Regions from separate parts of the Homo sapiens genome. Here all the other regions are linked to region 1. The links are contacts of gene promoters, found by promoter capture Hi-C in blood cells and fetal thymus (Javierre and others, 2016). All regions are on one chromosome and are shown on one strand. The core of a region is centred on a gene start or on the middle of the fragment in contact, and the rest is flanking DNA. Distances in the headings are between cores, read along the strand shown. Region 1 holds the start of SYNCRIP (synaptotagmin binding cytoplasmic RNA interacting protein). Region 2 overlaps EEF1A1 (eukaryotic translation elongation factor 1 alpha 1). Region 3 overlaps KLHL32 (kelch like family member 32). Region 4 has its middle 5.7 kb from the start of NDUFAF4.

What was found. The method cuts DNA at HindIII sites, captures the fragments that hold promoters and counts their contacts. A CHiCAGO score of 5 or more calls a contact.
Region 2: a fragment that was not itself captured here is called in contact with the fragment with the promoter of SYNCRIP in region 1 in 2 of 17 cell types (total CD8 T cells and naive B cells); the score reaches 9.0 in total CD8 T cells.
Region 3: a contact is called between a fragment that was not itself captured here and the fragment with the promoter of SYNCRIP in region 1, in 2 of 17 cell types (naive B cells and total B cells). The highest score is 9.8, in naive B cells.
Region 4: a contact is called between a fragment that was not itself captured here and the fragment with the promoter of SYNCRIP in region 1, in 2 of 17 cell types (non-activated CD4 T cells and naive CD8 T cells). The highest score is 10.3, in non-activated CD4 T cells.

Annotation. Positions count from the first base shown.
Region 1 is chr6:85,639,688-85,645,505 of GRCh38, reverse strand. It overlaps SYNCRIP (synaptotagmin binding cytoplasmic RNA interacting protein), which reads left to right and starts at 2,620. Exons shown (of 11, transcript NM_006372.5): 1 at 2,620-2,709; 2 at 4,055-4,214; 3 at 4,942-5,060; 4 at 5,178-5,285. The coding sequence starts at 4,067. RefSeq lists silencers at 1,541-2,560, 3,151-3,300, 3,521-3,570. The HindIII fragment of the contact is 3,992 bases long and covers 994-4,985 here.
Region 2 is chr6:73,514,439-73,520,256 of GRCh38, reverse strand. It overlaps EEF1A1 (eukaryotic translation elongation factor 1 alpha 1), which reads left to right. Exons shown (of 8, transcript NM_001402.6): 2 at 201-374; 3 at 741-920; 4 at 1,029-1,325; 5 at 1,409-1,559; 6 at 1,647-1,903; 7 at 1,993-2,227; 8 at 2,323-4,507. The coding sequence starts at 231. The coding sequence ends at 2,447. Among named protein-coding and RNA genes, the nearest start is that of EEF1A1, 3.7 kb to the left of the region's middle. RefSeq lists enhancers at 1-64, 1-107, 65-887 and a silencer at 4,637-4,931. The HindIII fragment of the contact is 197 bases long and covers 3,023-3,219 here.
Region 3 is chr6:96,932,911-96,938,728 of GRCh38, reverse strand. The region is part of intron 1 of KLHL32 (kelch like family member 32); the gene reads right to left. Among named protein-coding and RNA genes, the nearest start is that of KLHL32, 11 kb to the right of the region's middle. RefSeq lists a silencer at 5,089-5,289. The HindIII fragment of the contact is 7,230 bases long and covers 36-5,818 here.
Region 4 is chr6:96,900,707-96,906,524 of GRCh38, reverse strand. It overlaps a transcript of KLHL32 not described here. Among named protein-coding and RNA genes, the nearest start is that of NDUFAF4, 5.7 kb to the right of the region's middle. The HindIII fragment of the contact is 8,724 bases long and covers 1-5,818 here.

The DNA.
Region 1 (5,818 bases), core at 1,371-3,870:
TATGGCAGTGTAGAGAAGGAAGTGCCTTGAATGATCCGCTCCAGCAATTCATGTGGGGGATGTTAATTGAGATGGGAACTCTGTAGACGGAAGACTGGGGGAAGATCACGTGCTCAGTTTCTTGAAATGCCCATCTGGAGTGCCAGAAAGCCCACATAAACATTGAGGGCGTGGCTAGAGAAAGGAATTAGATGTCAGAGAACAGCTAGAGATTTTAATTTGGGAGCTTTGCCCAGGTTAAGGCACTTTAAAAAATTTTTTTTAATACCCAGGAAGGTCTAAACAAAGTGTTACATGTTTCAGACTCATTTTTATTCTTTTTTTTTTTGAGACGGAGTCTCGCTCTGTCGTCCTGGCTGGAGTGCAGTGGCGCGATCTCCGCTCACTGCAAGCTCCGCCTCCCGGGTTAACGCCATTCTCCTGCCTCAGCCTCCAGGGTAGCTGGGACTACAGGCGCCCGCCACCACGCCTGGCTAATTTTTTTGTATTTTTAGTAGAGACGGGGTTTCACCGTGTTAGCCAGGATGGTCTCGATCTCCTGACCTTGTGATCCGCCCGCCTCGGCCTTCCAAAGTGCTGGGATTACAGGCGTGAGCCACCGCGCCCGGCCAATTTTTATTCTTGTTTAATCCATGGTATGACTCTTATTTTCATAGTTTTCTATTAAACATTTTGTTTTTCATGTATATCATTAACCACGACCTCTGCATTGTGAACAAAAATCCCTATGGCTGAAGCAGCTGAATATCACATATGTTTGATAGTAAGGAATCTGGGGTGGTGGAGATCTCAAATCCTTACTAAACAGGTTGGCTATGTGGTGCTTTGGCTAAAACATACTTCATATCTGATCCAAGTAGCTATGAAAATAATCTAGCATTTTATGTGCTTGTGCACTTTGAAGAGTGTTTATCTAACTTTTCCTCAAACCACTGATTTGTTATCATAGCACAGAGCTCATCTGGGGAACCAGTAAGCTCTTAAAAATAAGCTTTTTAATCAAAAGGACATTGTTTCTATTTTTCATTACAGCTGCCCTGGATAAAATTAGTATCCATATCGCGTCTGTAATTCAAATGCCTTTGTCTTGTCTTTCTTGTACCTAGTAAACGATTATAAAGGAAACGTCATTTCACAGAAGATTTAGTTGCCAAGGTTTTTTTTAAAAGAAACACAGACATTTTTCTCAAAGTTGTTCTAACCACGCAGCTTTGTGCTGTTTCAAGTTGCTCAAACTGTGCCAGGAGGAAGCCCTTAACTGCTTAAAAGGCCAGGGACTGAAACGGAGTATTGCACAACCCTTCACCACCGGGCGGTTTCGCTTCCAAATCTGGCCTTCGTGTCATCCCAAGGCAGGAGCCGCTCCTCGCTCCACTGGAGCCAGCCCCGTTCCCCCTTCAAAAGCAGCCGGGGTTTCCGCGTCCAAGCCTGGGGCGCCCCTCCCTTCGCCGAAGGTTCCCGTGAAAGCGGAGCCGCGCGGCTGCGAGGAGGGCCCACTGTCCAGTTGGGGAGATCGAGTCTCCAAGGGCGACTCTCGCACTCGAGTACCGCCAGTCCGGCGGACCAAAGGTCCGCGGGTCTCCGCGCCGCTCCCCTCCCCCTTGGCCCCATTGTCTGCCTCGCCCCGCCCCGGGGGACACGTGCGCCTGCAGCTTCCCGAGGAGGAGAGCGCGGGGCGGTGGCAGCGGCGTGGACACCGCCTGGAACGGCTACGCGGCCGCGGAGCCGGGGGCGGGGGCCGGGCGCGCACAGACCGGTGGGTGCCCTCCGGGAAGCGGCAGTCGCACTCAGCGCCCACAGCACTCTGCCCCGCCAGCCCCGGACCGGGCAGGGATGGGGCGGGCGGGAGCTCGGTGGGGGTGGCGTGCGCATGGTGTCGCGGGGAGGGGGTGGGGTGGGGCGGGGTGGGGAGATGCCAGTCTCCTGACAAAGGAAAACGAGTGGGACACGCTGAGCCGGCCCGCCCCGCCTGGAGGGGAGAGGGAGGGGGAGTGTCGGGAGGGGAAGGGGCGGGCCTTTCATTCAGTCTCGGCCCCTCGGCCGCCACCGTCGGAGCGGAAGGGCGGGGTCTTGTGCCTCCCCCACCCCCAACCCAAGGGGTGAGGAGCGGGGAAGGCGGCGCGGCGTGGGGGCGGAGCCCGCGGGCGCGCGTCCCGAGGCGTAGGCTACGTTGTCACGTCAGCGCGGGAGAGAGAAAGAGAGGAGCCGACTCGGCAGGGACTGGGGGACCGGGCCGAGAGTGCGAGCGAGCGAGGGAGGGAGTGAGGGAGCGTGCGAGCCAGAAGGGGAAAGGCGGCCACTCGTGCCTGAGCGACCGCAGAGGGGAGTGGGAGCAGTGGGGTAAAGGAGCGGGGGGCGGGAATAAGAAAGGCCGAGAGAAGGCGGACAGAGGCTAGTGGTGGTGGTGGTGGTAGGGGGAGAAGGAGGAGCTGGAGGAGGGCAGGGGCTGAGGGAGTGAGTGAAGCGGACGCGCGAGGGAGGGGAGGGAAGGGAAGGGAAGGGAAGGGGGGGTCACGCGGGGGCGCGCGCGCGCACCGGGAGCGCGCTCGGAGGCGAGTGGAACTGGATCGGGTTTGCTGCCAGCGGCGTGAGCTTCGGCCGCCATTTTACAACAGCTCCACTCGCGCCGGACACAGGGAGCAGCGAGCACGCGTTTCCCGCAACCCGATACCATCGGACAGGATTTCTCCGCCTCAGCCCAACGGGGAGGTAACGACTGCCAGAACCTGGGTGTGGGAGGGGAGCTCCATGACATTGTGGAGTGAGCTGGGGGAGGGTGGCGCGGGTAGAAACCGGCTTTTCTGGAAAATGGATTCCAATGGGGAGAAGAGCACGTTGACTGGGGCTGCCTGGGAGTAGGCCGCGGCCCGCGCCGCCACTTCCTCCTTTCCATGTGCTGCTGCGGTTCGGGCTTTGTCTGCGGCGCTTTGGGAGGAGGCGCCTCCACGGTCCCGTGGCCCGCACGGACCGCGAGCGGCTTCAGAGTTGGTGCTGTCGTGGCGGTCGCCGCGGCGCGGGAGTGGGCGGAGAGGAGTGGGTCTTGTCCTGCAGCCGTGCGGCGAGCTTGGGCGGTGCTCACGGTCCCGCGGGCGTTGAGCCGTCCGCTGAACGCCCTCACGCTGCTGGGTTGCCGGGCAGGCGTCGCAGTCACTGCACGGAAGGGTAAGGGGTGGGGACCTGCACAGCGCGCCACGGGTCACGTCTCGGCCGGGCGGGCGGCCGGGGGTCGTCGGCGCCCGGGGAGCGCCAGGGGCGGAGAGCCATGTGTCACGGCGGAGACGGCGGCGCTGGGGGGCGGGGAGAGCCTGTGGCCTGGCGCCGCCGGTGCCTCGGTGTTCAGGGGAGAGATTGTGCTGCTGCAGCTTTCTGGGGGCTCCGACCGCGGCTTCGGGTTGATGTTGGGAACCAGTGATGGTCGTCTTGGTTTGGGATTCGTTGGGTTGCCGTTGAAGGAAGTTGTAGGACATTGGAAGGCGCAGAGCACGTGTTTCTAATGGGCTCCTGGCGGCCGCAGTGGTGAGACTGCCGCTCTGGGTGCGGAGTCAGGGGCGGGCTTTGGGGTGCGGGGTTAAAGGGTGGAGAAATTGGGTGGTGGGAAGGTGGCTTGTATGAGCGCTTTGTTCTTCGCTGGCTGTTGTTACCGATCTATAAGCGGCAGGCGGGAAAAGCGCGCACTTTGGGGGTTTATCTTTGAGAGAGAGGAGCCCAGTTTTGCTTTCTCCACACACACCTCATTTTCCGAACGGGCACAGCTGCATGTGGCACGCTGGCTCGTACCCGTGCTGATTGGGCTCTATTTGTAATATGGTTTTTCCTAGGGAGTGTTAGCAGGTGAGTCAGGGGTGGTGCTGAGGAAGAATATGGTGAATCGGTCCTTCTGTGCCCTGTGCTCCAAATCTGGCTTGTCAGGCGATAGTGACTGTAAGGCTTTTTTAAAGGGAGGTATAGGCTAGCTGGTGTAGTAAATGGTAGAGAAAGTAAAGATGGGGCTCTCATATTGTCTTGTATTCTTTTTGAAGATCCTAGTTTAATTTTGCTTATTGCGTTTGAACAGATCTCTGGAAACATGGCTACAGAACATGTTAATGGAAATGGTACTGAAGAGCCCATGGATACTACTTCTGCAGTTATCCATTCAGAAAATTTTCAGACATTGCTTGATGCTGGTTTACCACAGAAAGTTGCTGAAAAACTAGATGAAATTTACGTTGCAGGTAAGAACTAACACTTGCAAAATTACATTATGAAATTTTTCTATTGGATTTCTGGCTTTGAGCTAAAATAGCAACTTTTTGTGGTTTCCAATAAGTGTGGGTACTGGAGTTTTGCTTGTTGTGATAGTTGGTTAATTTAAGTTTGAAGTAGAGGTTAAGATGTATAGAGGGAGGGAAGAAGAGAAGGTTAGGAGCTAAAGGCTGGCTTGCATGCTGGCCTGATGGATAAGTATATGATAGTAGCAACAGCTGCTAAATGTTGGGAACAGGCCATGTGACTTTTTTGAGTATTTTTATAGTAGGATTCTTCTTAAATAACTTGGTAACTGTAGACTTGTTTTCTTGTCTTTCTGGTGCGGCTGTTAACTTTTTCTGGTGGTATTTGAAATTGAGTAGAGGTTCAGTTGTCATGCTTGGTACTTTGTTGGTTGATTCTAGGATTCGTAAGTCTGTATACTGTAAAAATACCGTAGTGTTCAGAGTTATCAGACTTTGGAGATAAAAGATGTAAAAGAAGTTAGCTGATTATTGTAAGTGTGGTTGGTAGGGCATATTTAGTTCAGGATTCAGTTCAGAGTGGCTGAAGTGTGTGTTTTTTTTTTTTCAGGTATAGATGAGGGGAGTAGAAGAATTGTAAAGGCACACATGTACCTGTATTGCCAACATAGTCTTCTCTAAAAAATCTTTTCTAAAAATATTAAAAGCTGATAACTTTTATTTTTTTCAGGGCTAGTTGCACATAGTGATTTAGATGAAAGAGCTATTGAAGCTTTAAAAGAATTCAATGAAGACGGTGCATTGGCAGTTCTTCAACAGTTTAAAGACAGTGATCTCTCTCATGTTCAGGTAATGTTAATGTCAATGTGAAAATTAAAAAATTTGAGTAGTTTTGATACTATCTGCTGAATTTTATTAGACTCAGATATGGTTATTGTTAAATATTAATGGAACATTTTTTTGCAGAACAAAAGTGCCTTTTTATGTGGAGTCATGAAGACTTACAGGCAGAGAGAAAAACAAGGGACCAAAGTAGCAGATTCTAGTAAAGGACCAGATGAGGCAAAAATTAAGGTATGTCTTTCTATACTCCCTTTAGTTTTAAAGTCATTTTAACTGTTTCCTAATTTTGGTAAATATTCCTTGGGTATGAAATGGATGTATGTTAGATGTTGAGATAATTCATCAATCTTTCCTAATTCCTTTTTTTAAGTTTTTTTAAACTATTTGTTTCTAAAGCAATTTGCTGTGAAGTTTATCATGTTATCCAGCTACTGATGTTTAAATCTGTTCTATTGGTAGTCCTAGTATAAAGAAACACACCCATGATACCTCTAGAATATTTTTTGAAAAGCTGCAAAGCCAGCTTATTGACAGTTGAAATACTGATGGAGAATGTACATTTGGCAACTGGCTTTTTTTTTTAGGAGTCTCAAACCCCAATGAATTTAGAATGTTAACCCTGCTGCCCTCCACTTCCATCAGTATGGATTATTAGACTATTTCTCAAAGCAGCTTTGACAATAAGATTGTTTAGTGTGGGTATGTAGATGAGAAACTGAGGCTAGGAGGAGGAGGCTTTTTTTTTGGTTTAAAATCATGGTGAA
Region 2 (5,818 bases), core at 1,872-4,371, about 12 Mb after region 1:
GCTTTTGGAGTACGTCGTCTTTAGGTTGGGGGGAGGGGTTTTATGCGATGGAGTTTCCCCACACTGAGTGGGTGGAGACTGAAGTTAGGCCAGCTTGGCACTTGATGTAATTCTCCTTGGAATTTGCCCTTTTTGAGTTTGGATCTTGGTTCATTCTCAAGCCTCAGACAGTGGTTCAAAGTTTTTTTCTTCCATTTCAGGTGTCGTGAAAACTACCCCTAAAAGCCAAAATGGGAAAGGAAAAGACTCATATCAACATTGTCGTCATTGGACACGTAGATTCGGGCAAGTCCACCACTACTGGCCATCTGATCTATAAATGCGGTGGCATCGACAAAAGAACCATTGAAAAATTTGAGAAGGAGGCTGCTGAGGTATGTTTAATACCAGAAAGGGAAAGATCAACTAAAATGAGTTTTACCAGCAGAATCATTAGGTGATTTCCCCAGAACTAGTGAGTGGTTTAGATCTGAATGCTAATAGTTAAGACCTTACTTATGAAATAATTTTGCTTTTGGTGACTTCTGTAATCGTATTGCTAGTGAGTAGATTTGGATGTTAATAGTTAAGATCCGACTTATAAAAGTTTGATTTTTGGTTGCTTCTGTAACCCAAAGTGACTAAAATCACTTTGGACTTGGAGTTGTAAAGTGGAAACTGCCAATTAAGGGCTGGGGACAAGGAAATTGAAGCTGGAGTTTGTGTTTTAGTAACCAAGTAACGACTCTTAATCCTTACAGATGGGAAAGGGCTCCTTCAAGTATGCCTGGGTCTTGGATAAACTGAAAGCTGAGCGTGAACGTGGTATCACCATTGATATCTCCTTGTGGAAATTTGAGACCAGCAAGTACTATGTGACTATCATTGATGCCCCAGGACACAGAGACTTTATCAAAAACATGATTACAGGGACATCTCAGGTTGGTGGGATTAATAATTCTAGGTTTCTTTATCCCAAAAGGCTTGCTTTGTACACTGGTTTTGTCATTTGGAGAGTTGACAGGGATATGTCTTTGCTTTCTTTAAAGGCTGACTGTGCTGTCCTGATTGTTGCTGCTGGTGTTGGTGAATTTGAAGCTGGTATCTCCAAGAATGGGCAGACCCGAGAGCATGCCCTTCTGGCTTACACACTGGGTGTGAAACAACTAATTGTCGGTGTTAACAAAATGGATTCCACTGAGCCACCCTACAGCCAGAAGAGATATGAGGAAATTGTTAAGGAAGTCAGCACTTACATTAAGAAAATTGGCTACAACCCCGACACAGTAGCATTTGTGCCAATTTCTGGTTGGAATGGTGACAACATGCTGGAGCCAAGTGCTAACGTAAGTGGCTTTCAAGACCATTGTTAAAAAGCTCTGGGAATGGCGATTTCATGCTTACACAAATTGGCATGCTTGTGTTTCAGATGCCTTGGTTCAAGGGATGGAAAGTCACCCGTAAGGATGGCAATGCCAGTGGAACCACGCTGCTTGAGGCTCTGGACTGCATCCTACCACCAACTCGTCCAACTGACAAGCCCTTGCGCCTGCCTCTCCAGGATGTCTACAAAATTGGTGGTAAGTTGGCTGTAAACAAAGTTGAATTTGAGTTGATAGAGTACTGTCTGCCTTCATAGGTATTTAGTATGCTGTAAATATTTTTAGGTATTGGTACTGTTCCTGTTGGCCGAGTGGAGACTGGTGTTCTCAAACCCGGTATGGTGGTCACCTTTGCTCCAGTCAACGTTACAACGGAAGTAAAATCTGTCGAAATGCACCATGAAGCTTTGAGTGAAGCTCTTCCTGGGGACAATGTGGGCTTCAATGTCAAGAATGTGTCTGTCAAGGATGTTCGTCGTGGCAACGTTGCTGGTGACAGCAAAAATGACCCACCAATGGAAGCAGCTGGCTTCACTGCTCAGGTAACAATTTAAAGTAACATTAACTTATTGCAGAGGCTAAAGTCATTTGAGACTTTGGATTTGCACTGAATGCAAATCTTTTTTCCAAGGTGATTATCCTGAACCATCCAGGCCAAATAAGCGCCGGCTATGCCCCTGTATTGGATTGCCACACGGCTCACATTGCATGCAAGTTTGCTGAGCTGAAGGAAAAGATTGATCGCCGTTCTGGTAAAAAGCTGGAAGATGGCCCTAAATTCTTGAAGTCTGGTGATGCTGCCATTGTTGATATGGTTCCTGGCAAGCCCATGTGTGTTGAGAGCTTCTCAGACTATCCACCTTTGGGTAAGGATGACTACTTAAATGTAAAAAAGTTGTGTTAAAGATGAAAAATACAACTGAACAGTACTTTGGGTAATAATTAACTTTTTTTTTAATAGGTCGCTTTGCTGTTCGTGATATGAGACAGACAGTTGCGGTGGGTGTCATCAAAGCAGTGGACAAGAAGGCTGCTGGAGCTGGCAAGGTCACCAAGTCTGCCCAGAAAGCTCAGAAGGCTAAATGAATATTATCCCTAATACCTGCCACCCCACTCTTAATCAGTGGTGGAAGAACGGTCTCAGAACTGTTTGTTTCAATTGGCCATTTAAGTTTAGTAGTAAAAGACTGGTTAATGATAACAATGCATCGTAAAACCTTCAGAAGGAAAGGAGAATGTTTTGTGGACCACTTTGGTTTTCTTTTTTGCGTGTGGCAGTTTTAAGTTATTAGTTTTTAAAATCAGTACTTTTTAATGGAAACAACTTGACCAAAAATTTGTCACAGAATTTTGAGACCCATTAAAAAAGTTAAATGAGAAACCTGTGTGTTCCTTTGGTCAACACCGAGACATTTAGGTGAAAGACATCTAATTCTGGTTTTACGAATCTGGAAACTTCTTGAAAATGTAATTCTTGAGTTAACACTTCTGGGTGGAGAATAGGGTTGTTTTCCCCCCACATAATTGGAAGGGGAAGGAATATCATTTAAAGCTATGGGAGGGTTGCTTTGATTACAACACTGGAGAGAAATGCAGCATGTTGCTGATTGCCTGTCACTAAAACAGGCCAAAAACTGAGTCCTTGTGTTGCATAGAAAGCTTCATGTTGCTAAACCAATGTTAAGTGAATCTTTGGAAACAAAATGTTTCCAAATTACTGGGATGTGCATGTTGAAACGTGGGTTAAAATGACTGGGCAGTGAAAGTTGACTATTTGCCATGACATAAGAAATAAGTGTAGTGGCTAGTGTACACCCTATGAGTGGAAGGGTCCATTTTGAAGTCAGTGGAGTAAGCTTTATGCCAGTTTGATGGTTTCACAAGTTCTATTGAGTGCTATTCAGAATAGGAACAAGGTTCTAATAGAAAAAGATGGCAATTTGAAGTAGCTATAAAATTAGACTAATCTACATTGCTTTTCTCCTGCAGAGTCTAATACCTTTTATGCTTTGATAATTAGCAGTTTGTCTACTTGGTCACTAGGAATGAAACTACATGGTAATAGGCTTAACAGGTGTAATAGCCCACTTACTCCTGAATCTTTAAGCATTTGTGCATTTGAAAAATGCTTTTCGCGATCTTCCTGCTGGGATTACAGGCATGAGCCACTGTGCCTGACCTCCCATATGTAAAAGTGTCTAAAGGTTTTTTTTTGGTTATAAAAGGAAAATTTTTGCTTAAGTTTGAAGGATAGGTAAAATTAAAGGACATGCTTTCTGTTTGTGTGATGGTTTTTAAAAATTTTTTTTAAGATGGAGTTCTTGTTGCCCAGGCTAGAATGCAATGGCAAAATCTCACTGCAATCTCCTCCTCCTGGGTTCAAGCAATTCTCCTACTTCAGCCTCCCAAGTAGCTGGGATTACAGGCATGTGCTAATTTGGTGTTTTTAATAGAGATGAGGTTTTTCCATGTTGGTCAGGCTGGTCTCAAACTCCTGACCTTAGGTGATCGCCTCGGCCTCCTAAAGTGCTGGAATTACAGGCATGAGCCACCATGCCTGGCCAGGACATGTGTTCTTAAGGACATGCTAAGCAGGAGTTAAAGCAGCCCAAGAGATAAGGCCTCTTAAAGTGACTGGCAATGTGTATTGCTCAAGATTCAAAGGTACTTGAATTGGCCATAGACAAGTCTGTAATGAAGTGTTATCGTTTTCCCTCATCTGAGTCTGAATTAGATAAAATGCCTTCCCATCAGCCAGTGCTCTGAGGTATCAAGTCTAAATTGAACTAGAGATTTTTGTCCTTAGTTTCTTTGCTATCTAATGTTTACACAAGTAAATAGTCTAAGATTTGCTGGATGACAGAAAAAACAGGTAAGGCCTTTAATAGATGGCCAATAGATGCCCTGATAATGAAAGTTGACACCTGTAAGATTTACCAGTAGAGAATTCTTGACATGCAAGGAAGCAAGATTTAACTGAAAAATTGTTCCCACTGGAAGCAGGAATGAGTCAGTTTACTTGCATATACTGAGATTGAGATTAACTTCCTGTGAAACCCAGTGTCTTAGACAACTGTGGCTTGAGCACCACCTGCTGGTATTCATTACAAACTTGCTCACTACAATAAATGAATTTTAAGCTTTAAGATGAAGTGGCATTTCTTTTAACAGTTACTATGTTGGAATTGGTTACAAATTTTGGAGTGGATTTCAAAAGTGAGAGCTAACTTCAGTTGATTTCAAGGTAGTGCTTGGCTTTTTTTGTTTAGACAGGGTTTTACTCCTGCCCTGGTTGGAGTGGAAGTTAACGGCTAACTGCAGTCCTGACTTCTGGGCTTAAGTGATCTTCCCTGAATAGCAGGGACCACAGGTTTTTGCCACCACGCCTGGCTAATTTTTGTATTTTGCCATGTTGCCAAGGCTGGTCAACTCCTGGGCTCAAGTGATCTGCCTGTACTGTATCTTTCCCAGTTAATCTGATATTTATCTTTTAAATCTCAGATGTGCCAGGGCCTCGGCAGTGACTCAAGGAAGAACCCATGTGCTCTTAGTGGGACACGATTTGTTCAGACCTACTAACCTCAACCCAGTTTCAGTTCTTTATAGTGGAGAATGTTGACAGTTTACACTGACAGGCCACATTTTAGCATTGTGTTATCTTCATGGTTTTTTTTCTTTTGAGATGAAGTTCCAAACTTAGTAACTTACCATTTACTTTTTAGTGTAATTCTAAAAGATTTCATTCAGCTAGAACTACCCTGATATTTAACTGTCCTTTTTCTCTTACCTAATTATTGGCAATTAAACATTTTTGTCATTTACTTTGGGACTGTTTTTAGCAGGCCCATGGATCTCAAGGTTTAGTTTTGTGGGTTCTATGGGAGACAATGACAATGAAGATAAACGTTAATGTTGCAATAATTCTAAGCAAGGGATATTAGAAAATGAAGCAGGCCAGGTCATGGCTCACGCCTGTAATTCCACCATTTTGGGAGGCTGAGGTGGGGAGATCACAAGGTCAGGAGTTCAGACCAGCCTTGCTAATATGCTGAAACCCCATCTCTACTGAAAATACAAAATTAGCTGGGTGTGGTGGCAGGTGCCTATAGTTACGAGGCTGAGCCAAGATCACACCACTGCACTCCAGCCTGGGCGACAGAGAAAGACTTCATCTCAAAAAAAAAAAAAAAAAAAAAGCAAAAGGCTGGGCGCAGTGCCTCGAATCCTAGCACTTTGGGAGGCTGAGGCGAGAAGATCTGCTAAATACAAAAGAAAAGCAAGGTGTGGTAGCACATGCCTATAGTCCCAACTGAGGCTGAGGCAGGAGAATCCCTTTAGCTTGGAAGGTGGGGGTTGCGGTGAGCCAAGATCTTGCCAGGGCACTCCAGCCTGGGTGACAGGGCAAGACTGTCTCAAAAAATAAAGATGCCGGGTGCAGTGGCTCACGCCTGTAATCC
Region 3 (5,818 bases), core at 2,401-4,900, about 11 Mb before region 1:
AATAACTTGTATATGAAAGAACCAGGATTCAAGCTTAGGCCCGTCTATTTCCAAATCCATTCCATCTATGTATCCCCTGCTGCTGCTGCTGCTGCTGCAGGAAGAGAGAAAGGAAGCTACAAGCAGCCAAAGCCCACTGGCTGTGGAGGAGGCCAGTGGCTGGTGAACAGTGTGGTCCACAGGCAGCCTTAATACCACTGGTCATCAGGGAGGACCAGAGCAGTCAGAAGCAGCAACAGCAGCACAGAGAATGCTGATGAGGTATCTGCAGGACACGAGAAGCATGCCGGAAGGTGGAGCCCAGAAGAGAAGGTGTCCACTGTGGGGCCCAGCCCTGCCCCAGTACCACCTGGCCAGGGACCCCAGGACCCTCTGGCAGGGAACAATAGGGAACCTAGTGGAACTGAAGTCTGATCCTGATGCTGGTGAGCCTGAACCACACATTTGTTTTTTTTTCCACTATGGAATTATCTTGTAACTATAACTTCACTACTCTGGTGGCCAGAGACACCCTTGGTAAATATACAGCAAATTTGGAGCTGTGATGCTTTGAGAATGACAGACTTAGGAAAACATATACAGATAAGTTACTGGATTTCTTCAAATAGTCAACTCCTAGGGGCTTTAAGGGTTTTTCTGTTTGTTTGTTTTAAATTATTCATTACTTGACAAAGAGGCTTAGGAATCAGAAATACATAACACTAAAGGTTGTCAAGGAATCAGTATTTCCTGAGAGTGTGTTTATTTACAGAGTCTGAGAAGGAGACACGGTTCACATTGGGGAAGAATTAGAAGGCAGGTGGAGAAATGCTTTTTGAGACCAATCAAGCTATGGGTATTCAAGGGTTGCCAGAAGTTTTTAGAAAGAAGAGTGACATGATGGAAGCCACATCTCTAAAGATATTAGTGACAACAGTCCCTAGGAAGGGATGGAAGGATAAAGAAAGTGGCACAGAGAAGCTGTAAGGAAGCTGAAGGCAGAAGGGCAGCTGTGAGGATGGAGGGTAGAGGGGGACACGGGAGGAAGTGGAAGGAGAGGCTGAGAGCCCCTGATGACTGAATATTGAGGCAGGAGTACACATTGATTCCATGCTCTCCTCCACAACTGAATGAAGAAATCATGGAATCATTCATTAATAGAAAACGTGTGAGGAGTCAGCTCATCTCCCTGAGGGGGACAGGGCAGTGGAGGCACACCCAGAGAACCTCAGGATTGTTGCCCGACAGACACACATGGATGGAGTACAGGCACCCCTACATCTCTCTTCCATTTCTGTCCAATTTCCCCATGTCCTGACGCTAGTTATCTGCAAATAAGTTCACACACACACAAGAAATATGGTAATATCCAAATTTAACAAATATGCAGCTCCTTCATCTTTTGAACCACACATGCTAAGCACTAAGCAAATAAGACAAATATGCCAATGTCTAGAACAGGCAAATGTACAGATGTAGAAGCACAGCAGAGGTTACCTATGATGGAGAGGGGGTGGCGAATAACTGCAAATGGGCATGAGGGAACATTTTGCGGTGACAGAAATGTTCTAAAACTGGATTGTGTTGGTGGCTACAGAACGCTATACATTTGCTACAAACTACTGAACTGTACACAGTTACAATGGGTGAACTTTAATGATATGTAAGTTTTCCCTCAGTAAAACTTTTTTTTTTTAATCGATAAGAGCTGTGGGGAAAAAAATACAGGGTAAGATGAATTGAGAGTGAAGGGGTTGGGGTGGTGGGCAGGTTGTAATTTTAAGCACAGTGATCACAATGGACTTCATTGAGAAAGTGACATTTGAGCAAAGACCCGAAGGAGGTAAGACAGTGGGCCTGCGGGTAGGCAGGAGGCAGGGCATTCCAGGCCGAGGGTATTACCAACTGTGAGACACCAGTTCTAAGGCAGGAATGGGCAAGGCAATGGGAGATAAGAGAGGGATAGATGGTATACAGGGTCTGGTTCTTGGGATGGAAGCTGCTGCAGTTTTAGGCAAAGAAATATAGCCTCATTCAGGTTTTAAAACAAAATTTTTGGCTGCTGTGTGGAGAAGAGTCTATAGGAGGCAAAGAAGACCTTCTGGGGATCTGCTGCAATGATTTAAGCAACAGGTAATGTTGACTGGGACAAGAATGGTAGTGGGAAGTTGTGACATATGGTCAGATTCTGGGTATACTTTGAAGGTAGAGCCAACAGAATTTCCTGACTGTTTGGATGTAAGTTGTGAGAGGAAGAAGCTAAGGATGTTTCCAAGGTTTGGGTGCTGAACAACCAAAAATGGAGAGGCTCTGGATGAGGTAGGCTTGAAGGAAAAAAAATTGTAAAGCATGTATAGGGAACTATGCTACTATGTTCTATGTGCCAAATCATTTCACTTTCTTTGGGTGAGTTTTTAAAAGGCTTCCTTCACTATAAGGTAGGTTTCCTTCCAATATATTCATTAGTTAAGATACTTTAGAGAAATGAACGGCCATGCAAAATGTAGACATGTCTATTTAAAATCCTGATTCTTAGCATTCTTTATCCTTAGTCATTGGATTATGGAATATCTCATTTTCTTATAATTTCTTAATTATATTTCTAGTGACATTAGACTTAGCCTGCCTATAAAGGTCCTACTGCTGGCCCCAGCTGACCAACAAAAAGTACAGTGACACCAAAGGCAGTCAGTCACTCCTGAGTGATTCTCTTAAAGGGACAGGCTGAGCTGAGAAAAGGCCCAATCAATGTTGGGATACAGTAATAAAACCCGTGTCCTATCACAGAGCAAATTCAAGAAGCACCACATAGAAGGACCAAAATTCAAAGCCAATCTCTCTTAAGATTTATTTCTCCTTAGGAGAAACTGTGAAGAGATGGAGTAGAAAAAGGTCATATTATTGCATAGAGATTTAAATAAATATGTACTGTCATTTCCTGATGTAAAACAGAGATTTTCCTTTCTTTTAATTCTAAATTTACATATATTTTGTTCCTTCTTATTTATTCTGCACATTTGGTCACTGGACTTCTCTATGCAGTCATTATCATTAATACACAAGTTAGAAATACACATTAGACTCAGCAGCTGTGCCCAAGGCTATTACTCCCTATAATTTGGCACAGATGGCCAAAAAGATAATTTTGGCTGGATGGCCCAATACTAACCACCTAATGAGGCTGCAAGTTCAAAATCAATTGATGATAGACGCGGTTTCACAGTTAGTGTTCCCTCTTTTCTCCCAGACCCCTCCTCTTTTCCTTCACAAAAAAGGCAGAAGAGTCCAACCAAAATCTAATTTGCCGAAGTTCCACAGACAGCATTTACCTTACTTTATGGGGGGAAAAGGTAACTCAATAAAACAATTCTAGTCCTGAAATGGTCATTCTTCAGGTCAAAAGACTTTTTCTTCAAGTCAAAATATTATTAAGTATTAAAAAGTTTCCTGCAATAGGAATTGAGCAGGTTTGTACCTAACTCAACATCAGGGAAGCCATCACAATAGTCAATAATAATTAAATTACCATAGACAGGCAAACCTAAGTATGATGTCTGCCTTTCTCTCAGCTAGTCACACACCACAAAATGAATTCTCTTAAAATTACAATTAAGCAACATCCTGCCATGCATAACCTTGATCATTTTTGTAGATGTCGGCAATTCATTTATGCCTTCCAAGTTGTCTAATGGCAAGGTTTCTTTTTCTTCTTATCTGTATACTGGTGCTTAACAATTGCATATCTCTTCAAAATGCCTAATATTCAAAAGCACATTTTGAACTCTCGCAAAAATAAAGATCAAGCTACAATTTGAAACTGTAGTCTCTCTGCTCCTCATATCGTGCTATATCCATACTATCCTGCAGCAGTTCACTACTAACCTGTTAATCAATGACCCATAAGATTATATCCACAGTGGAAATGGCATTCTCCAGTTGGCTTACATAAAGCCATGTAATCACTATCAATGCTCTAAATCTAAAAAGTATAAAATTAAAAAGTATTTAGTTTTATCTTATGCAGAAATGTATGTTATTAATCAACCGAGCTACCATATGGACAACTATGAGGATATTAGCTGCTCTCTGCAGCAATCCGCCTAATTAGTTATACACAAATTTTAGTAGAAAATGATAACCTCTGTTTCAGTAGTAAAGATGTTAATCACACATCAAGACTTCTACCCAGACAGGGCACCTGGTTGGTAGAGAATTGTTTGTGTTGTTTAAATGTCCACTGAGTATCTGGAGAGCACTGACATCAGAACTGATTTAACTTGCTATTTTTTTGTTGTTGTTGTTAAGTGTCAATGACAAGAAAGCTGAGGCCCAGATCCAGATGGCCTGGCTGGTCCTCGGAAGGTAGGAATAAGAAGCAGAGTGTGAGCAGCTCACTGCACTCTAGACCACATCTCCCAAAGTAGACCTATCACCATAATTACTCAATGGGAGTTTCTTAATACACAAATGACTCAATACTAATGCAGATTCTCACACAGTAAGTATAGAAGATCCAGTAATCTATATTTTCGAAACAACCTCAGGTCATTCTGAGGACCAGCCTTGTTGCAAACCTCTAGAGTGCACGTATTTGCAGGACAGTGGTAAATATATGATTTTCTGACGCAAGGTCCTACAATGCCCAGTCAAAAGCAGTATCAGAGCACTCTTAATACAAACAAAGCACTTAACATATCTAATTTTATGTCATGGATGACAATGTGAGAAAAGTGAGATTATCTGTGTTATCCCAATTTATACAGGAGACTTAGGCACAGAGTTCTGAAGTCAAGGTCACTCCTTACAGAGTGAAAACTCAAGGAAACTGATTCCACCTGCTTTTGCTCTCCCAATCCACTTACTGTGTCAACCCCTAGCCTAACTGTAATCCACAGAAGCAATAACAGTGAGAGATTTTCAGTACTGATCTGTGACTCAAGCCACCATGAGTGACTGCTGCCTAAAGAAAAGGCCTTATTAACCCTGGCACTGTCCTTAGGAGGTCTCAAAACTGGCCAAGGAGGGACATGTGGCTGGCTCCTGGGAGATGACCCTCTGTCCCAGCTGAGATACTGGTGGGTGCTATTCCACCACATAGAAAGACTCTCTCCTGAAACTGTCAATATGCTTCCATCCCTGAGGTCAACCATGAGGCTCCAGATACAAAGGGGAAATGAATCACATCTAAGAACTAAGGAAGTTCTTGAGAGCAATGATAACCTGTGTTTCTTAAACATCTTGGTCAACAGTTGGCCACTGATGTGAAGGGCTCACTTAATGTTGAGAGGCAAGAAGTCTTCTTCCAACCTTGCCTTGTCCCTGCATCCAACAAAGGAGTCTTACACCAATAGCTGCTGACTGAGGCACTCTAAGTTTCCACATGAACAAAGAATGGATGGCAACGGAATTCTGAAGCAATCACAGGATATAAATCTCCCAAAAGAGGTCCAAGTAGAGGAAGCAGAATTCCAAGAATACAGTGCCCAAAAGGAAAAATTCAGTAATCAAGGCACGTGTTTTGAGGGGTAAGGGAATTTCATCCCTTACTGGGTCCAGGAGTAAAATATGTCGTTGTTTTCAAAGGCGTTATGTTGGGGTGATGCTCCTGCACAGATAAACCATGTAACTAATTCATCCTGTCCTAATTCCATGCTAGTGAAATCCTTAACCACTAAACCCTTAACCACTAGGAAAATGATGTGCTGGTCAAAGAATTCCACCCACATCTGCAAACCCCTTGGCAGTTACATATACAGAATATATTAATATTTGATGTTAAAGCAATTAACAAAATGTAATGACAATAATTAATTGCAGGCTTCTGATGGCTAACATTGAT
Region 4 (5,818 bases), core at 1,048-3,547, about 11 Mb before region 1:
ATCTTTCTAAGAGAGACCTATGGCTCTCTAATTTCCACTCAAGAGACCTTCACTCAGAGAAAATAAAAACCAGACTCTTTCCGATCATTTTAAACCTCTACCACCACCTGACCTGCAATGACTTCTATAATAGCTATATCCCATTCTCCCGGTCTCTTTACCCATCCCTCTTCATTCCACCACCCTCTTAATCCCCAACTTTATTCTTGCTGTATTCATTTTCTATTGCTTCACAACTAATCACTACAAACTTAGAGGCTTAAAACAATATCTATTTATTATTCTATGGTTCTGTAGGTTAGAAGTCCAAAGCAGGCTTAACTGGGTTCCCTGTTTAGGGTCATTGGGGGTCATAGACTTCTGTCTACCACACCTGCCTCCCTGCCTCACCTAACAGTGTCACATCCAACAGAAATGAAACTCGGCAGAGGATTGTGTGCACTGATGCTTAGGGGTGGCTGTGTGCAATTCCTAGGGACAATGGAGACAGAAGCTAACAAAAGGTGGGACTACCAGAATAAAAAGGCAGAGCTGTGCCTGCAAGGTCATGGATTGACAATAAGAAACTAATCCAAAAAGTCTATGAGCAAGGACACTTCATATACTTCCCAGAGTATCCTTCACCATTTTAAAAACAGCCTCAGGCAGCTAAATGGTTCTCTTAAATATGTATAGTTGGGTATAATACTACAGAGTATTGCAATAATGTGTTAATGAATAAGGAATCTGAAGATACTAACTTCTAAGCCATAAAGTGCCAATCAAACCTAAACTATAATTATTAAAATGTTTCCTATTATATTAGTATTTTGTTATATAAAAGAATAATAGCTAATAGTTTTTGAATGTTTACTGTATGACAAGACTTATGCTTTCAAATGGATCATATCTCACAACAACCCTATGAAATAAGTAGTATTGTTATATTTCCATTTTACAGATAAAGAAACTGAATACCAGAAAATTTAAGGAGCTTACCACAAAATTATGCAGTCAGGAAGTGATAGAACCAAGATTCAGATGCAGGTTTGTCTGATGCCAAGCTGGTTAGTAATCATTATGTTACACCATGGCTGCTAAGAAAAGAATCAGAGACAGTTACAAAGGGAGAAAGGACCAGACAGACGGAGAGAACAAACACAGACCCTAGCTCTGGAGTTATTGAGTTGGGTTTACCAGTTAAGGTAAAATGCTTTGGTTACAACTTGCTTTTCACATATTTTCTGGGGTCCTTCTGGAATTCCCTGTTCTATATTCTTTATTTTCATAATCTTTCATAATCTTTGAAATGAAAATGATTTCTTGAGTATTTGCTTGTTCTTTGCATCTTTTCACTTTTTTTTCCCTGTGCCAAATTATCAAGACTACCTTCTGTAGCTGGGGCCAAGATGGACAACTGTTGTATTGATTAAATTGCTATGGATGGAAAAAAAAGATCTCATTGGAATCAAACCAAAACTGCTATGATGAGGTGTTCCTTACTTCCATATAAAGCAAGTTCATGAGGACATGGAGGGACAGATACAGTATGAAAGCAAACTGATGCAGCAGGGAAAGCTGGAGTGAAGAAAGAAGACAGGGAATTGTTATAAATGGGAATGGAGAGCAAGGGGAAAAAGCAAACTGATAAATGATGTTGGAAATTCAGTTGTTTATGGGGAAAGAATTATATCCTTACATCACAGAGTGATTTTAAATGTTGCCCTGTACATAATCACATCTGTCTTGTCACTATTTATTTGCCTATTCCTGTAACAATACCATACCATAAAGTTTTATATCATATTCTGATATAGGGTAAGTCCTACCTAATTGCTGTTTTTCTAAAATCTATTGGCTATTCTTTCATATTTTCTTTTCTGGATGAACTTTATTATCAGTGATCGAGCTTCATTAAAAACGCTATTACAATTTTAATTGAAATTGAAAGTGTATCAAATTAATTAATTTTTTGAATAATTGACATTTTTACACTATTCAGACTTTGCATCAAGGAACCTGGTATGTCTAGCCATGTGTGTTTCTTTATGTTCTTTCATAATTTTTGTGGTTTACTAAGTTTTAGTTTTACACATATTTCAAGTTTATTTCGAGATGCATAATAATTTTTGTGGTCATCATCCATGAAATTTTTTGACCATTATATTTTCTTTCTTTTTCTTTTCTTTTTTTTTTTTTTTTTTTTGACAAAGTCTTGCTCTGTTGCCCAGGCTGGAGTACAGTGGCCTGATATCGGCTCACTGCAACCTCCGCCTCCTGGGTTCAAGCTATTCTTGTGCCTCAGCCTCCTGAGCAGCTGGGATTATCGATGTGCACCATCATGCCTGGAAAATTTTTGTATTTATAGTAGAGACGGGGTTTTAGTATGTTGGCCAGGCTGGTCTCAATCTCCTGACCTCAGGTAATCTGCCTGCCCCAGGCTCCCAAAAGTGCTGGGATTACGGGTGTGAGCCATTGCCCTGGGCCTTGGTCATTATGTTTTCTAACTGATGGGTAGGATAGCTAGCTATTCAGCTACCTTATTAAATTTATTTATTAGATCTAATAGTCTTTGCCAGATTCTCTATAATTTTCAAGGCAGACAGAAGTGCTAATTTTGCAAAAGAACAAATAACATAACATTTATAATTCTTATTTCCTTTTCTTGTTCTTTGTGAGCTGGTCAATACGATATTTGCCATAATTTTCTGAATTGTACCCTTTATAAAGTAAAGGCAGTTTTCTTCTATTCCCTGTTAGCTAAATGTATTTTTAGTAATGGGTGTTGAATTTAACCAAATCTATATTGGGAATCCATTGAAATGATTACATAGGATTGACTGAACTGCCTTAATTTCTGGAGCTCAGGGGTACTCTTCCAGGCTTACTTGGTCATTGGCAAAATTAAGTTCCTTATGGTGGTGGGATTGAGATATCTGTTTCTTGTGGGCTGTCACATCGGGCCTCCTCTTACCTCCCAAAGGCCCTGAAGTTCCTTGCCATATGGCCTCCTTGCAGGTTCTCTCAAAGATCCTCTAACAACATGGCAGCTTGCTTCTTCAAAGCCAACAGGAGAATCCCTCACTCTTGTCTCCTAAGGTGGTCTTATATAATGTAAAGTAATCATGAGAGTGACCGTAATCTATTCTATTCTGTATCTATTCCTTATTCTATTCTTTTCTATTCGATTGTGTTATATTCATATTTGCTATATTCTATTGGCTAGAAGCATGTCACACAAGGGAATGAGAGTAAGTATTATAATTGTATATATATTTATATATATTTTCTTTCAATTTAAAAAAATGTCTCCATATTTATGATCGTATTCTTTCCAAAAAATTCTTAATGTATTTTATTTGTTCTTTTATTTTCACTTGAATTTGTCAGATTTTATATTCTCAAGGAACCAACTGTTTTTTTTTGTTGTTTGTTTTCTGTGTGGTTGATTTCTGCTTTATCTTCAGTCCTTTAAAGAAATTTTTTGATTTATCTAAACAGAAAGAAAAAAGCTGGCGGCAACATGCTACCTGACTTCAAACTATTCTACAGGGCTACAGTAACCAAAACAGCATGGTACTGGTACAAGAACAGACACATAGGCCAATGGAACAGAAAAGAGGAACCCAGAAATAAGACCACACACCTATGATCATTTGATCTTTGACAAACCTGACAAAAACAAGCAATGGGGGAAAGGATTCCCTATTTAATAAATGTTGCTGGGAGAACTGGCTAGAATATGCAGAAAATTAAAACTGGACCCCTTCCTTACACCATACACAGAAATCAACTCAAGATGGATTACAGACTGAAATGTAAAACCCAAAACTATGAAAACCCTAGAAGAAAACCTAGGCAATACCATTCAGGACATAGGCATGGTAAAGATTTCATGACGAAGACACCAAAAGCAATTGCAACAAAAACAAAAATTGGCAAATGGGATCTAATTAAACTAAAGAGCTCTGCACAAAAAAGAAACTATCAACAGAGTAAACAGACAACCTACAGAATGGGAGAAAAGTTTTGCAATCCATGCATCTGACAAAGGTCCAATATGCAACGCCTATAAACAAATTTACAAGAAACAAACAAATAATCCAATTAAAAAGTATGCAAAGAACATGCCCAGACACTTCTCAAAATAAAACATACATGCAGCCAACAAACATGAAAAAAAGCTCAATATCACTGATCCTTAGAGAAATGCAAATCAAAACCACAATGAGATAGCATCCCACACCAGTCAGAATGGCTATTATTAAAATGTCAAAACAAAAACAAAAACAAAAACAGATGCTGGCAAGATTGTGGAGAAAAAGGAACACTTTTACACTATTGGTGGGAGTGTAAATTAGTTCAACCATTGTGGAAGATAGTGTGGCAATTCCCCAGAAACCTAGAGGCAGAAATACTATCCAAGCCCACAATCCCATTACTGGGTATATACTCAAAGGAATATAAATTGTTCTATTATTAATAAAAAGACATATGCACATGTATGTTCATTGCAGCACTATTCACAATAGCAAAGACATGGAATCAACCTAACTGTCCATCAATGATAGACTGGATAAAATGTGGTACATATACACCATGGAATACTATGAAGCCATAAAAAGGAATAAGATCATGTCCTTTGCAGGGACATGGATGGAGCTGGAGGCCATTATCTTTAGCAAACTAACACAGGAACAGAAAACCAAATACTGCATGTTCTCACTTATAAGTGGGAGCTAAATGATGAGAACACATACACACATGGAGGGGGAACAACAAACACTGGAGCCTGTTGGAGGTCGGAGGGTGGGAGGAGGGAGAGAATCAGGAAGAAGATCTAATGGATACTGGGCTTAATACCTGGGTGATGGGATGATCTGTGCAGCAAACCGTCATCTAAAGTTGATGACTGTAGTGAACAAAACAATAAGCCTTCCAAAAATGTCTCTTAATCCCTGAACCTGCAAATGCTACCTTACATAGCAAAATGCACTTTACAAATGTGACTAAATCAAGGATCTTCAGATGGAGAGATTATCCTGGATTATCCACGCAGGTCCAATGTAATCATAAGGGTGTTACGATGGAAAGAGGGAGGTAGGAAAGTCACAGAGAAGGAAATGTGACAATGAAGTGATGCAACTGCTGGCTGCCAAGAAATGCGGGAAGTCTCTAGAAGAACCCCTTCCCCATTTAAAGTAAAAAAAAAAAAAAGGCATCCAGGAGGAATATATCTCTGCTGACACCTTGATTTTATCCTTAAAAATCTCATTTTGGACTTCTGATCTCCAAACTGTAAGATAATAAATTGTTTTGTTTTAAACCATTTGCGGTAATTTGCTAGCAGCAATGGGAAATGAATACAAATGAATACAATGACAAAAGTCATGAGTGCAGTAACCACAAAGCAGGCATCTGGGCATAATTGCTGGTTGATCATTCTAATCTCTAATCTGAGACCCAGTGTTCCTCAATATGAATACTGGATCTGCACAAAGCCTAGTTTGTTTTGGTTTTGAGTTTGTGGCACTACCCCCCGCTCCCAGTATTCTAGGTTTTACAGACCCAAAACACTGCATCACTATGAAATTGGCCAAACTTGGGAACCTTGTAAATTATTTCAGTTGGACTCCTACAAATTCTCTGGTTTCTAATCTGGAATCCAGGCCCTGGAGAGGTTCTCTCTGCCTGAACACCAGAACCTCTGCCAGAATAAGTCATTCCTCCATAAATCTGTTGTGCTCCTCACTAGTGGTTGAGATTTGATTGATGAAACCTCTGAGGGCTGTCCTGGGCCCCTTGAGCCAACTGTCACCTGGGTTTAGCTACTGTAATC